Linked DNA regions of Homo sapiens: region 1 is linked to region 2. The links are contacts of gene promoters, found by promoter capture Hi-C in blood cells and fetal thymus (Javierre and others, 2016). All regions are on one chromosome and are shown on one strand. Each heading gives the region's core, a stretch centred on a gene start or on the middle of the fragment in contact. The rest is flanking DNA. Distances are from core to core; before and after follow the strand shown. Region 1 holds the start of LINC03086 (long intergenic non-protein coding RNA 3086). Region 2 holds the start of SNRPB (small nuclear ribonucleoprotein polypeptides B and B1).

Evidence for each region. The method cuts DNA at HindIII sites, captures the fragments that hold promoters and counts their contacts. A CHiCAGO score of 5 or more calls a contact.
Region 1: a fragment that was not itself captured here is called in contact with the fragment with the promoter of SNRPB in region 2 in 1 of 17 cell types (monocytes); the score reaches 5.2 in monocytes.

Annotation. Positions count from the first base shown.
Region 1 is chr20:2,200,050-2,207,278 of GRCh38, reverse strand. LINC03086 (long intergenic non-protein coding RNA 3086) reads right to left here and starts at 351. Exons shown (of 2, transcript NR_161305.1): 1 at 1-351. LOC105372502 (a long non-coding RNA gene) reads right to left here. Exons shown (of 3, transcript XR_937202.3): 2 at 6,535-6,784; 3 at 5,854-6,408. RefSeq lists enhancers at 1-77, 1-260. The HindIII fragment of the contact is 6,433 bases long and covers 1-4,513 here.
Region 2 is chr20:2,468,606-2,476,060 of GRCh38, reverse strand. SNRPB (small nuclear ribonucleoprotein polypeptides B and B1) reads left to right here and starts at 5,272. Exons shown (of 7, transcript NM_003091.4): 1 at 5,272-5,373. The coding sequence starts at 5,371. RefSeq lists enhancers at 5,263-5,312, 5,323-5,372, 5,533-5,652. The HindIII fragment of the contact is 1,844 bases long and covers 4,844-6,687 here.

The DNA of each region.
Region 1 (7,229 bases), core at 48-2,547, 260 kb after region 2:
AGGACCTCCGACATGAAGGGAAGCGGGGGCTGGAGGACGCAGAGACTCTCCCTGGGCTGCTCGAAGGCCAAGGCTGTAACGCGGCTCCGGTCCTCGTTTTCCCGCCGTCGGTGCTGGCTGCCTGCAGTTGCCATGGTGACGCGGGCCGCGGGGCAGGGCAAGGTCCCAAGTCGCGTGCAGTTGCTCCTCGCCGTCGCCACTCTCCTGCCCCAGGCTGTGGGTAGCAGACGTCAAAAGAGATACACCAGAGCGCGACCCGGACTCAGGACCGCCCGGGTGGGGGCTGCTTCGGGCATTGGACACACTTCCCGGGCGCCTCGTGACCGCACACTCCTGGCCTCACACCTCGGGGTGGGTTTGCACGAGGGGGGGCCGAGCCCTGTCGCTGAGCGACACTGACCTTCTTAAGGCCACCTAGCTTTGGGTACAATGGATGTCTCATACTGAATTTTAATCAGCTTCTTACTGGAGGACATTAATGTTTGTTCAATCTTCGTTACTACAAAAAATACTAGAGTGGAGTGGTAATATCCTTGTATGTACGTGCACACGTGCAACTTTCTCTGTAAATTTCCAGAAGTAAAATTTCTATGTCAAAGGCCACATGCAATTTTAATTTTCATGAATATGACTAAATTGCTCTTCAAAGACACTAGCAAATTTACATCTCCACCAAAACTGGAGTCCGATAATTTTAATTAGGATTATATCAACAGCGATGAACTGTTGCAAAAGAATTTTCCAGAGCATTTTCCATTAAACCAATTCTTTGATCAGTTTTTTTTAATACAACATAGTTAAATAGTATCCATATCCATTTTTATTTTATGGAAATTGTCTTTACTGAGTGATTCTTTTACATATAAATTTCATGATAAAGATTTTACTTCTTTAAAATTTGTATGTCGAATTTTACTTTGGTTTCCATCATTGTGATATTTTGTATTTCATGCTTATTTTATTGAAAAAGAAAAAAAAAAGGGAACCCCGACATTCAGAAGCTAGCCTGGCATCACAGGTCCACCATGTTATCCTCCTATTGTACGTAGCGTCACAAAATAACAACCTCAGATATGGTTACAGAGAGCCTGATAAAGTGAGACATAGCAAATCTACTTTGAAATTTTGTCTAAGCACAGACAAAAACACAGTCACTGTGCCACTCACAAAATACCAAACACCCGTCTTGGAGAAAATGAGTGACTGCTACTTCTTTTTTTTTTCTCTCTCTTTTTTTTTTTTTTTTTTTTTGAGTCAGAGTCTCGCTCTGTCGCCCAGGCTGGAGTGCAGTGGCAGGATCTCGGCTCACTGCAAGCTCCGCCTCCCAGGTTCATGCCATTCTCCTGCCTCAGACTCCCAAGTAGCTGGGACTACAGGAGCCCGCCACCACGCCCAGCTAATTTTTTGTATTTTTAGTAGAGATGGGGTTTCACTGTGTTAGCCAGGATGGTCTCGATTTCCTGACCTCGTGATCTGCCTGCCTCAGCCTCCCAAAGTGCTGGGATTACAGGCGTGAGCCACCGTGCCCGGCCCCCTGCTAACTAATTACAGTTTTATCTTTCTTCTAGTTTGCCTTCTCTATAGATTAGATTTATTGAGATACCCAATCATGGAATTGGCTCCTGCTTCCTGACCACTTCCAATCTAGGGCGAATCCAACTTCCATAGGCCCTCCTTAAATTACCCATAAAAGCTCAAATCCAGTAATAGGTTCTTTATAACACCTCTTTTCGAAGATACCCCCCCATAGTTCTGTCATGGTATGTACTCTCCCTCAGTGCAACCCAACTTGTTCAACTATAGGTGTGTCCTGGTGGTCTTTGGCTAAAAGGCATTGACACTAGCAAGTTCTATTTTCTTTTCTTTCTGAGACACGGTCTCACCCTCTTGCCCAAGCTGGAGTGCAGTGGCGCCATCAGGGCTCACTGCAGCGTCAACCTTCAGGCTCAAGCAATCTTCCCACCTCAGCCTCCCAACTAGCTGGGACTACTGGCATGCACCACCACGCCTGGTTGATTTTCATTTTTGGAGACAGGCTTTCACTATGTTGCCCAGGCTGGTCTCGAACTCCTGGGCTCAAGGGATCTGCCTGCCTTGGCCTCCCAAAGTGCTGGGATTACAGGCATGAGCCACCATGCCCAGCCGCCATAGTTCCATTTCCTTTGGCAAAATTTTGTGGGTCCAAAAATCTGTCAATGGCAGTCCTCTACAAATGTTTAGTAAGGAGCAAATTTTACGTGGGCAGTCTGTTTTAGTTTGCATTGATTATTTCAACCAGATCTGATTTCCTTTGCTTCTTGTAATTTCCAGTGTTACCTTTAAGATGTGAGTCTTCTGAGTTCATAACAAATTTCACAGGTGCCATCTTAACCATTGTCAGTTTTATTTTGTATGATTTATAGACAAATCATACAAAATAAATGACTACCGGTGATAGTCATTATGAATCAGACAGAAGGTTGATAATTTTTTCATCTGCTTCTTGACTCAAGAACCTTCAGTAGGGCAGTGATGTAGGACCTGGATACGCAGCAAAGTAAAAATGATCTGCTTCAACCGGCAGGCTTGCTGTGTGCGCCATGCCCTTTACCAGGCACTGGGAACACAGGTCCTGCCATGAAAGTAATTCACAGTCTAATCAGAGCGATATAGGAGCTGGCTGGCCTCAACGTGCCAGATGGATGAGAATGAAAAGGGCCTTCCAAATGGAGGAAACAGCCAAATGCAACGAGTTTATTTATTCATTAAATATTTATCGAGTACTTACTTTGTGCCAGGAATTGGGCTGAGCATTGGGGATGCAGGAATGAGCATCTTCCATGTGGCCCCTGCTCTCCAGAAGCTCTTGGTCTGGTGGGGGAGATGCATATGAAACAATCGCTCCAGTGACTGCAATGTGTAATAACCACTGCAGAGAAAATCCAGAATTCTGTGGGAGCCTGGGACAATGGTAACCTGACAAGTGGGGGTCAAGGAGAGCTTCACTGAGAAACTCACTTTTAATCTGTGTGAAGGATGAGACAGACAAAGAGGAGGTTGTTCTTGGCAGAGGACACAATTCATGCCCTGAAGTGGGAAAAGACTTGACCTTTCTCATGGGATGAAAGCAAGCCAGTGTGGCTGGAATGAAGTGGGTTGGAGGAGGCTGTTGGAGTATGAATGAGGTGGACCGATATCTGATCCTGCAAGGGCTTGTCCACCATCCTAAGTTGTTTGCGTCTTAATTCAAAAGCAAGAAGTCAGGGAAGAGTATCAAGATAAGGGGTGGGGTGATTAGATTACAAATGCATTTTACTATGTCTATGGGAGAATGGATTGGGCGGCGGCAGGGGGGATGATAAACATCATGGAACCAATAAGAAGGAGAACACTGTAGTTGTTTACGGGAGCAACAATCACAATTGACCAGGTAGCACTCAGAGGAGGGAAATATCCATTGGAGCACTGAGGGTGGAAATGAGATTAGAATGGATTGAGGAGTGTGTGAGGTGAGGAATATCGGTGAAAAATATGAGAAACAACTGAGTTATGGACTGAATTGTGCACCCCAAAATTCATCTTAACTCCTAATGATTTTGAATGCCACTATATTTGGAGATAAGGTCTTTAAAGAGGTAATTAAGGTTGAATGAGGTCATATGGGTAATGACCTCATATTGACCTCATCCAATATGACTAGTATCCTTCTAAGAAGAGAGACACCCAGGGTGCACACACAGAGGAAAGACCATGTGGGGATACACTGAAAAGATTGCCATCTGCAAGCCAAGGAGAGAGGCCTCAGGAGAAACCAAGCTGCCAACACCTTGATTTTGGATTTCCAGCTTCTGAAACTGTCAGAAAATACATTTCTGTTGTTTAAGCCACTCAGTCTGTGGTATTTTGTTATGGGAGTCCTGGCAGATTAATATGAACCCAGATGTCCATATAATGAACAGTTGGGAAATAAATTATAATGCATCCATACTATGGGAAAGAGTCTTACCCTAAAATATGCCCATGCAAGTTCAAGACTTTGACTTTAAAAGGAGTTTAATTTCCATTAAATTTCTTTTCTTTGGCTTGTGAGGATTTCACTGCATTAGCAAAGACTGCTATTGAGCCTCTGGAGCAGCCTCCACATGGTCTTCTCTATGGTGACATAGTTGGTGCGGGTTGTAAGTAACAGACTCAGGCATCACTTGCATTGTTTCCTTTGTCTCTCTTATACTGCTTTTTAAAAAAATTTTTATGACTTTGAGAATCATGTGTGTATTTTGTTTCTGAAATTGTGCAGTAACTGTGTACCATCGGTTGAAATAGTAATTATCTTTTCCGTTTATGAAAATTCACCCTATGAATTTTCTTAGGAACAAACTAACCTTGTAATGAGAGGGATGACTGCGGAACTCTATGCAAATATTTAAAAGAATAAGGTAGGGAAAAATGAGGTAGAGCTAAATATAGTGACATGAAAAGATGCCCAAACCATATGGCTGAGTGAAGAAAAGAGGTGTATGTAGATTATGAAGCTTTTTTTGTTTTTTGAGTTTGTTTTTGTTTTTTTAGACAAGGTCTCATTCTGACTCCCAGGCTCGAGTGCAGTGGTGTGATCATGGCTCACTGCAGCCTCAATCACCTGGGCTCAAGCGATCCTCTTACCTCAGCCTCCCAAGTAGCTGGGACTACAGGCGCATGCTACCACGCCCAGCTAATTTATGTATTTTTTATACAGATGGGATTTTGCCATGTTGGCCAGGCTGGTCTTGAACTCCTGGCCTCAAGTGATCTGTGCACCTCGGCCTCCCAAAGTGCTGGGATTATAGGTGTGAGCCACTGTGCCCGGCTCTCTTTTTGTTTTCTAATACATATAACTATTTGTTAGTAGATGCTTAGGGGAAAAAAATCTGGAAACAGATACAGCCAATTTTTAAAGTATTGTAAAAATCATATCATTTAGGGGTCTCGGTTTTGCCAAATGAGCCCTGTTGATGAGTTGATAACCTCCTCTAGCAGGGAAACTGTAACACATGGTAATACACCGAAGGCCAAGAAGTCAGTGAAAGAGCCACGGGCTACCACTCTGACGCCCCCATGCTTACCACCCATGACACATGACCCAGTGTGGCCTTTGGGGTCAGGCCATGTAGCAAACACTAGTAAAACTTAGTATCTCTCCTAGTTTCAAATAAACATAACCATGAATATAAGTCCTAATATTTTCTCATCCCAATGGACCATCTTGAGCGAACACTGATATTTCTATAACTCTACAGATAGAGCACTCTACAAATGGATTGGAGGGTGATTCATTAGCATAGTATGTATATGCAATCAGAATACAATTTTGTGTATAAAACATCCACTGTGTATGATTCAGGGAACACAATTGTTCCGAGAAAGGAAGCACCAACACTATCAGGTATTTGTTTTCTGAGAAAGGAGGAAGATAGACTTTGATGATCTCTAGGATGACTTCCCACTGACTCTCTAAAACCCCTGGACCTCTCTAAGCCATTGAGGAAGCAGTTGAAGTGGCTGTAGTGGAATGAAGTGGTCTCTTTAAAGAAAATTGTATCCAGAGTGACTGTTAACCAGTGTGATACATGGCAGTCTTTGAAATAAATGTCTTTAAAGTCATTCAGTGTGATTCTATGTAGCTCTTCCACATTGAAGATGTTCTGTTTTATAAAAACTTAAATTTAATAAAAGAATTTAATAACTATCCCCTTATGATACATCAAATATTACTTTTCAGACTTTTAGCTACTTCTCCTGGAGGCAGAGTTTCCATAAAGAAGTCTCAGCTAAATGCTAAGCACTGTTACCAAGCAAAGAAATGAAAATTGAACATCGCCAAAGCAATTGTGTACATTTTTGGAAAATAATTTTATTTGTCAGAATGAAATTCACAGGCCTTTTAAGCAAAAAGTAGGCACATGATTAAAATGGCATTGAATTAGAAGAAAAAAGTTAATCAAGCAATCTTTATTGAAACCGTCTGTGCTAAGGTTTGTGAAGGAAGCATTGTAATCCTGGCTGACATTTATCATGACATTTATTGTATCTTGTGCCAAGCGGACCCAGATCAAAAGGTGGGTTATCTGTGCAGCTGCCCAAAGCACTAATCCATAAGCAGCACTGAAATGTCAAGGGAACAAATGGGAAATTGGTGCCAGTTACCTGAGCATTTCACAGGATTCCTTCAAAGTTGGCAAACTAAGTGGTTTCACTCCCACCAATTGTAGGCAGCAGATTCGAGTGATGTGACAGGGAGTAGGGGTGTGTTGGGGAAGGGGATGAGGTCAGAACTTTCAAGCTGGGACTACCGGAAGGTGGAGGAGGAGCGAGCGTGTGGGGACATCAGGCACAAGGACAGCGGTGCAGACAACCCCATCCCAGGTGATGAGGGGCTGGAGCACAGGGAACCTGGGAGAGAGGCGCCAGTGAGGTCGGGCGGTAGTCGGAAGCCACAGGAAATAATTTTAATATTACCTGAGCTGTGATGGGAAAACATTGACGTTTTCAACAGGGAAGTGGCATGAGCTGACTCACCTTTGAAAAGACCCATTTGGCTAACGGCTGGAGAACGGCTCCAGGAAGGCAAGAGTAGAGGCAGAGAGTGCATAATGAGAGGCCATGGAGGTGAGAAGTGATGGTGATGCACTCGGGATGATACTTCTCGTTAGAGCCAGCAGGGTTTGCTGAATACAATAGTTGCTTCCTAACTGGGCAGGGCTGGGCTGGGGCTTCCATGCTCAGTCTCCTACACAGCAGCCTCCTGGCAGCAGCCAGAGAGATTTTTCTAAAATATAAATCAGAATGTTACCTTAAAACCTTCAAGTGAAATAACCTAAATGGTTCCCAATAGGGAACTGGGTAAATAAATAACAGTACCTTATGCAATGCAATACCATGCAGTCAAGACAAACAAATGACCATGCAAACACTCTACCAATACCGCCACAAATGCTCTCCAAGACAAGAATTCAAAAAAACAGAGTGTGAATATTATGCTACCATTTGTAAAAGAAAAAGGGAGGATGCATGTGTGTGCACGTTTGATTTTGTATGTGTATAACATCTCTGTAAGAAAACACAAGAACCTTGTACCTAAATGGCTTCCAGGGAGAAGATCTGGACAGTAAGGGGATAGGGTGGGAGGGAGACTCTCTGCCTTTGGTGCTTTTGAGTTTTGAATCCTACGACTCTAAATAGTCGTATCATCAGTTTAACAATAAGTCAAATTA
Region 2 (7,455 bases), core at 4,023-6,522:
ACCAACTCTGGCCTGCACAACCTTCCCCCTCAAACTTTTCTGCTATCCAGTAGGCTGCAACCACAACTCCAAGAAGGACTGAACCCTAGCCTTGGGGAGGGAACCCTCCTTCCAAGTTTATCCTTGGGTAATCCCCCTCAGCTGTAGGATTTTCTTTTTGTATTTACATTTATCTTTGGAAAATAATTTTTTTGGGGGGTGGGGATCGAGTCTTGCTTTGTTGCCCAGGCTGGAGTGCAATGGCACGATCTCAGCTCACGGCAACATCCACCTCCCTGGTTCAAGCATTTCTCCCTGCCTCAGCCTCCTGAGTAGCTGGGATTATAGGCACCCGCCACCACAGCCGGCTAATTTTTGTATTTTTAGAGATGGGGTTTCACCATGTTGCCAGGCTGGCCTTGAACTCCTGACCTCAGGTGATCCGCCTGCCTCAGCCTCCCAAAGTGCTGGGATTAAAGGCATGAGCCACCATCCCTGGCAAAATAATTCTTTAATTTAAATTACTGTATGGTTTCTGTCTCCCTGTCGAACGTAGATTGATACAAGTGTGAAGGTATATGTGTGTGTTTTTAAAATGAGGGAAAAGACATGAATTTTGACTGCATATATTTGGTGAGCCCAGAGATAAGCCAAATAAATAATGCAAGTCAAAACTATTAATTATGAATACTCAGCTGGGGCTGTGACCCTGAATCTAGACACAGAAATCTAATGGTCTACATCAGAGGTTGGCAAACTACAGCCTAAATGCCAATCCTTGCTGATCACATGTTTTTGTGTGGCCTTGAGCCACACAAAATGTAAATGGTCTTTACATTTACATTTACACAAAATGTAAATGGTCTTTACATTTTAAATGGTCGCAAAGAATTTAAAGGATAATAATATTTTGTGACATCTATTTGTATCCATAAATAACATTTTATTGGAACCCAGCCACACTCATTTGCTAGGTATTGAGTATAGCTGCTTCCATGGTACATGGTAAAGTTGAGTAATTGCAACAGAGACCAAATGGCTCGATAGCCCTAAAATGCTCTCTGCCCTTAACAAAAAAAATATTGGAAACTAACCAGTCTTATACATATTTTAAAAAAGTTTGCCCGCCCCTGATCTAGACTGAAACTTGGGACCATTTTATCAAGTAAATACCAGATGAATTGCCTGTTTAATCCCCGGCTCTGAATTCATGACCTCTTTTCCCTTATTTGTAGATTGGCAAACTAATTGAGTTGCAAGGCATCTAGAATAGCCAAAACAACCTTGAAAAAGAAAAAGGAGGAGGATTCACACTTTTTCTGACTTCATATAGATCAAAGGAATAGAATTGGAAGTCCAGAAATAAAACCATGTGTCAATGGTCAAATGATTTTCCACTAGGGTGCCAAGATTATTCAGTGGGGGAAAGAAGAGTCTTTTTAACAAATGATGCTGAGCTAACTGTATATCTACTTAGAAAAGAATACAGTTTGACCCTACCTTATACCATATATAAAATATGAACTAAAAATATATCAAAAATCTAAATGTAAGAGCTAAAACTATAAAACTATTAGAAGAAAACAAAGGGGTAAATCTTCATAATCTTAGATTTGGCAGAAAAGATTTTTCTTATTGCACCAAAAACATGAGCAACAACAACAACAAAAAGATAAATTAGACTTCATCCAAATTAAAAAACTTTTGTACAGGATATTACCAAGAAAGTGAAAAGGCCAGGCATGGTGGCTCATGCCCGTAATCCCAGCAGTTTGGGAGGCTGAAGTGGGTGGATTGCTTGAATCCAGCTTGGGCAACGTGGTGAAACCCTGTCTCTACAAAAAAAAAAAAAAATAACAAAAATTAGCCACCGTGGTGGCATGCATCTGTAGTCCCAGCTACTCGGAAGGCTGAGGTGGGAGAATCGCTTGAGCATTGGAGGTCAGGCTGCAGTGAGCTGTGATCGCACCACTGCACTGCAGCCTGGGTGATGGGGTGAGACTCTGTCTCAAAAAAAAAAAAAAAAAAAAAAACTCACAGAATGGGAGAAAACCTGTATAAATCATATATCTGACAAGGAACTTGTATCTGTAATGTAGAAAGAATTCTTACAACTCAATAATAAAAGTCAAATGGTCCAATTAAAAAATGAGAAAAGGATCTGAATGGGCATTTCTCCAAGGATGATATATAAATGGCCAACAAGCACATGAAAAGATGTTCAACATCATTAGTCATGAGGGAAATGCAAATCAAAACCACGATGAAATTGATAGCACTTCACATTAAGATGGCTTGAATCAAAAAGTCAGATAATAACAAATATGGGTGAAGATGTGGAGAAATCAGAACCCTCATACGCCACTTGTGGGAATGTATCATGGTGAAGCCACTTTGGAAAACAGTCTGGCAGTTCTTCAAATGGTTAATCAGAATTATCATATGACTCAGAAATTCCACTCCTATCTGGATACCAAAGAGGAATGAAAGCATGTCCACGTGAAGACTTGTACACGATGTTTACAGCAGCATTATTTATAACAGCCAAAAGGTGGAAGCAATCCAAATGTTCGTCATTTGATGAACTGATAAAATATGGTAGTTCCCTCCTTATCTGAGGAGGTTATATTCCAAGATCACCAGTGGATTCATGGAACGGCAGATACTACCAAACCCTATATATACTATTTTCTCTTATACATACATAGCTATGATAAAGTTTAATTTATAAATTAGGTACAGTAAGAGATTAACAATACTAATAGAACAGTTATAAAAATATACTGTAATAAAAGTTATATGAATGTGGTCTCAAAATATCTTGTACTGTACTCACCTATTTTTATACTGCAGTTGATTGTGGGTAACTGAAACCACAGAAAGTGAAAGATGGATATGGGGGGACTACTGTACATCCATACAATGGAATGTTATTTGGCCATAAAAAGGAATGGAGTATTGATACGTGTCATGACATGGATGAGCCTTAAAAACATTGTGCTAAGTGAAAGAAGGTAGTCACAAAAGACCACGTATTATTATATGATTCCCTTTATATACATTTTCTAGAATGTCCTTCATAATATTCATCCTTCTGATAGACCTGAGTGTAGGTTCAGGTCTCTGCTCACATACCACTCCTCAGAGAAGTTTCCCCTGACCACCTAGCCAAAACTGTACCCTATCCCTCTCAGTTCCTCTGCCTTTATTTATTTTTTTCATATCACTCTAATGTTACATTGCATACTTATTTATTTGGTTTACTATGTCTTTCTCAGTAGGATGTAAAGCTCCGTGAGGGAAAGGACTCTATCCCAATAATGGTGCATGGCCTTAGTAGATGCTAAATAAAAATGATTTTAAATGCATGCATGAATGAAGTGTTAGGCAGCTGGGTAAGGTGGGGGCAAATGAACAGCTGAGGAGCCAGACGGACCTATATTCCCACTCTGACTCCGCCACTTTGGGCAACATAATTCATTTCTATGAGGCTTCGCCTCTTCATCTACAGGTGACAGGAAACGGGACAACAGAACACACCCTTTAGAGATGGTGTGAAGATGGCAAAGCACCAAGGTGGAAGCTCTCCTTGCTGGGTTTGAGGAACAGCAAGGAGATTAGTGTGACTGGAGAAGGATGAATGAGGGCAATGTTGACGGAGATGAATGAGGTTGGAGAGGAGCGCAGAGCTAGATTTTATTCCATGTGTGCTGGGAAGTTTTTGGTAAGTGGAGACCAGGACATGACATCATCTGATATCCCAGTACGTTTAGAAGGATCCCTCTGGCTGCCGTGAGAACAAGAAAGGAAGCAAAGAGACAAGTTACGGGCTCGTTCAATGATCCAAGACAGAGACGATGGTGGCTATGACTAGAGTGGACGCAATGGAGTGGGTGACAACAATCATATTCAAGATAATTTGAAGGTGGGGGCCACAGGATTTGCTGATGAATTTGATTATTCGATGGCAGAGAAAGAGAAGAATGAAATATGCTTCAAATTTGTCATTTTCTTTTTTTTCTTTTTTAATCCAAGAAACTTCGGGGATGGGGAACACTGGTGAAGTGGTTTTAGAAACAGTGAATAGAATCAAGAATTCAGTTTTCAACATGTTAAATTTGGTATACCTATTAGACATTCACATCACGCTGGCAGCTGGATATAAAGGGCCAAGAGTTAAATGAAGAGACCAAGGTTAGAGGAACAAACTTGAAAGCCTTGGGTGTATATGCTGTATTTAAAAGTCATAGGAAGGGCCCAGTGTGATGGTTCACGCCTGTAATTCCAGCACTTTGGGAGGCCAAAGTGGGTGGATCAGGAGTTCGAGACCAGGAGTTGAGGTCAGGAGTTCGAGACCAGCCTGGCCAACATGGCAAAACCCCGTCTCTACTAAAAATACAAAAATTAGCCGAGTGTGGTGGCACAGGCCTGTATTCCCAGCTACTCGGGAGGCTGAGGCAGGAGAATCGCTTGAACCGGGGAGGCAGAGGTTGCAGTGAGCCGAGATTGTGCCACTGCACTCCAGCCTTGGTGACAGACTGAGACTCTGTCTCAAAAGAAAAAAAAAAGTCATAGAAAAAAAATAAATGTCATACGACTGGATGCGATTATCAGCAAATATGGGTAGAGCCCTTATTTTGTGCTAAAGTGTTCTAGGCACTACAGCAATGAGTAATACACAAAGAGAAAAATTCACACCCTTATGGATCTTACATTCTAATGGGGAGGGGATAATAAAATAACTAACAAAAATATACAGCGTGTTAGATAGCAAGAGGGAAATACAGGAGAGATGAGGATGAGGTGGGTGGGAAGGTTACAGGATGGCTAGGGAAATCCTCACTGGGAAAATGTTATTTAAGCTTAAACCTTGAAAGAGGTGAGGGCAGCAGCCTTCTGGTATACCTTGGGGACTACCATTCCAGGCAGAGGCGAAAGCAAATGCAGAGGGGCTGAAAAAGGAGCACGTCCAGCCAGTGGAGGGAAAAGCAAGAATAGTGACTGTAGAGGAGAGAGCCGGGGAGGGTGATGGGAAATGAGGACCGAGAGGTTAATGGGAAAGGCGGGGTGAAGAGAAATGAGTGTGACACAGAGCAGCTCTCAGTACGGATTTAAGCTAGGAAGGTGTCCAAACAGGAACTTAAGGCTCTCCTTACGTCAAAGCCGGATGTTAACGCCCAGTCCCCAGGCCCCGCCTCTGCTCGGCAGAAGCTCCGCTCCGGGGCCGGAACTCCAGGGCTAGTGAGCTGGACCGGAAGTAGGTTTCTACCCGACCGCATTTTACGTGGTGCTGCATTTCCGGTAGCGGCGGCGGGAAATCGGCTGTGGGAGAGAGGCTAGGCCTCTGAGGAGGCGAATCCGGCGGGTATCAGAGCCATCAGAACCGCCACCATGGTAAGGAGGGCACAGGCTGGCGGCGCGGGAGCTTCCGAGTCTGTTGTGGAGTGGGAACCGCGACTGATCGGGGAGGAAGCCGTGGGTTGGAGCCACTTAGGGCGGTGAAGGCCTGGGCCGAGGCCGCTCGGTCTGGGCGGGAAAGACCAGGACCTTGGCGGTTCGGCTAGGCATGGGGTCGAGGAAAAGGTTGGAACCGGTGTCGGAGGCCGAGGTCGCTCGGCAGGGGCGAGGGTAGAACCGCGGCTCTCGACACCGCTGTAGCCATAATTCCTGGGACCCAGTAGGCACTAAGTTAACTTTTGCCGAATAAATATATGTCCCGGGCTTCGGAGCAGGCACTGGAGCCGCAGGGGGACCCGGTAAAAGGCTCAGACTTGCGGAAGTTTGTGAGTCTGAGAAAGAGTTGGCGGAAGTGGGTGGAAGGGGCTCGTGGACCACGCTAGAGTCTCGCTAGGTCTGCTGGATGGAGAGGAGGGCGGAGGAGGGTGATGGCGAATGGAGGAAGAGCTCCACTCAGTTGCTCATCACGTTTCCGTGTTTGCCTGTGCCTGACTTCTCAGGCGCTGGGGCTACTCTCTGAAATATGTTTGCTTCCTTCACAGAGGTAGCTGGGGACACATAATATAATTCAGTGTGGTCATTCGGTAAAAGTAACGGCAGCGGGGCGGGGTAAGAATGTTTTCTCAAATAGATGGTTCCTGAGCAGATTCCTAAAAGATTAGCAAGAATGTTCCCGGCGAAAATGGGGGGAATATTACAGACCCGGAGAACTGAAGGAACAAAGGCTGAAGGGTAACAAGATTTAAAAAGTTACTGGATTTTTCTGCGTTTGTTGACTGAGAAAAAGTTGCTGGAGGAGAAAGGAAGAAAGAAGGGAAGACGGGAAGAATTGGCAGGAGGCTAGTTACTAAAGGCCTTGCATGTTAATTTTACCTCAGTGGTGGTGAGGCATGTCATTGAAGGATTTAATTTAATTTATTTTTATTTTTTTGAGACGGAGTTTTGCTTTTGTTGCCCAGGCTGGAGTGCGGTGGATCGATCAGGGTTCACTGCAAACTCCACCTCCCGGGTTCAAGCGATTCTCCTGCCTCAGCCTCCCAAGTAGCTGGGATTGTAGGTACCCGCCACCACACTTGGCTAATTTTTTGTATTTTTAGTAGAGACGGGGTTTCACCATGTTGGCCAGACTGGTCTCGAACTCCTGACCTCAGTTAATCCACCCACCTTGGCCTCCCAAAGTGCTGGGATTACAGCCGTGAGCCACCACACCCTGCCCACTGAAGGATTTTAACCAGCAAAATGACATAAGCTTAGTGGTGTTTAGAAAGATTGCTCTAGCTCTGGCATGTATATTCGATGGGACTGGAAGCAGGGAAACCTGGTAGGATATTGTTTGGATAACTGGTTAGAATAGGCGCTGGATTCATTTTGTCTAGGTTCCAACACAGCTTCCCAGCTGTGAAACTGGGCAAGTTACTTAACCTCTCCTAGCCTCAGTGACCTCATCTGTAAAATAGGGATAATAATGGGCCCAATTTTGGGGATTAAATGAGATGTACTGTGCTTATCACAGTGCCAGATACACAGTGAGCACCCAGTAAACATTAGTTGAGCTGGACCAGTGAATGTTGCCCTAAAGGTTCAGATCCCTTGTGGTTAGAAGCTGGTTAAAATGGTCATTGAATGGAAACTGAACCACCTAACCTGAGGGAGGCTCGCAGTATCTTTGTGTGGAGTCAAGTTTTGTTTTTGTTTTTTTGAGATGGAGTCTTTCCCTGTCACCCAGGCTGGAGTGCAGTGGCATGATCTCAGTTCACTGCAGCCTCCACCTCCCAGGTTCAAGCGATTCTCCCATCTCAGTCTCCCGAGTAGCTGGGATTACAGGCACCTGCCACCACGTGTGGCTAATTTTTGTAATTTTAGTAGAGACGGGGCTTCGCCATGTTAGCCAGGCTGGTCTTGAACTCCTGACCTAAGGTGTTCTGCCCACCTCGGCCTCCCAAAATGCCGGGATTGCAGGAGTGAGCCACTGAGCCCGGCCATGGAGTCAAGGTTTTGATCTGCATATTTGCAGGTTCA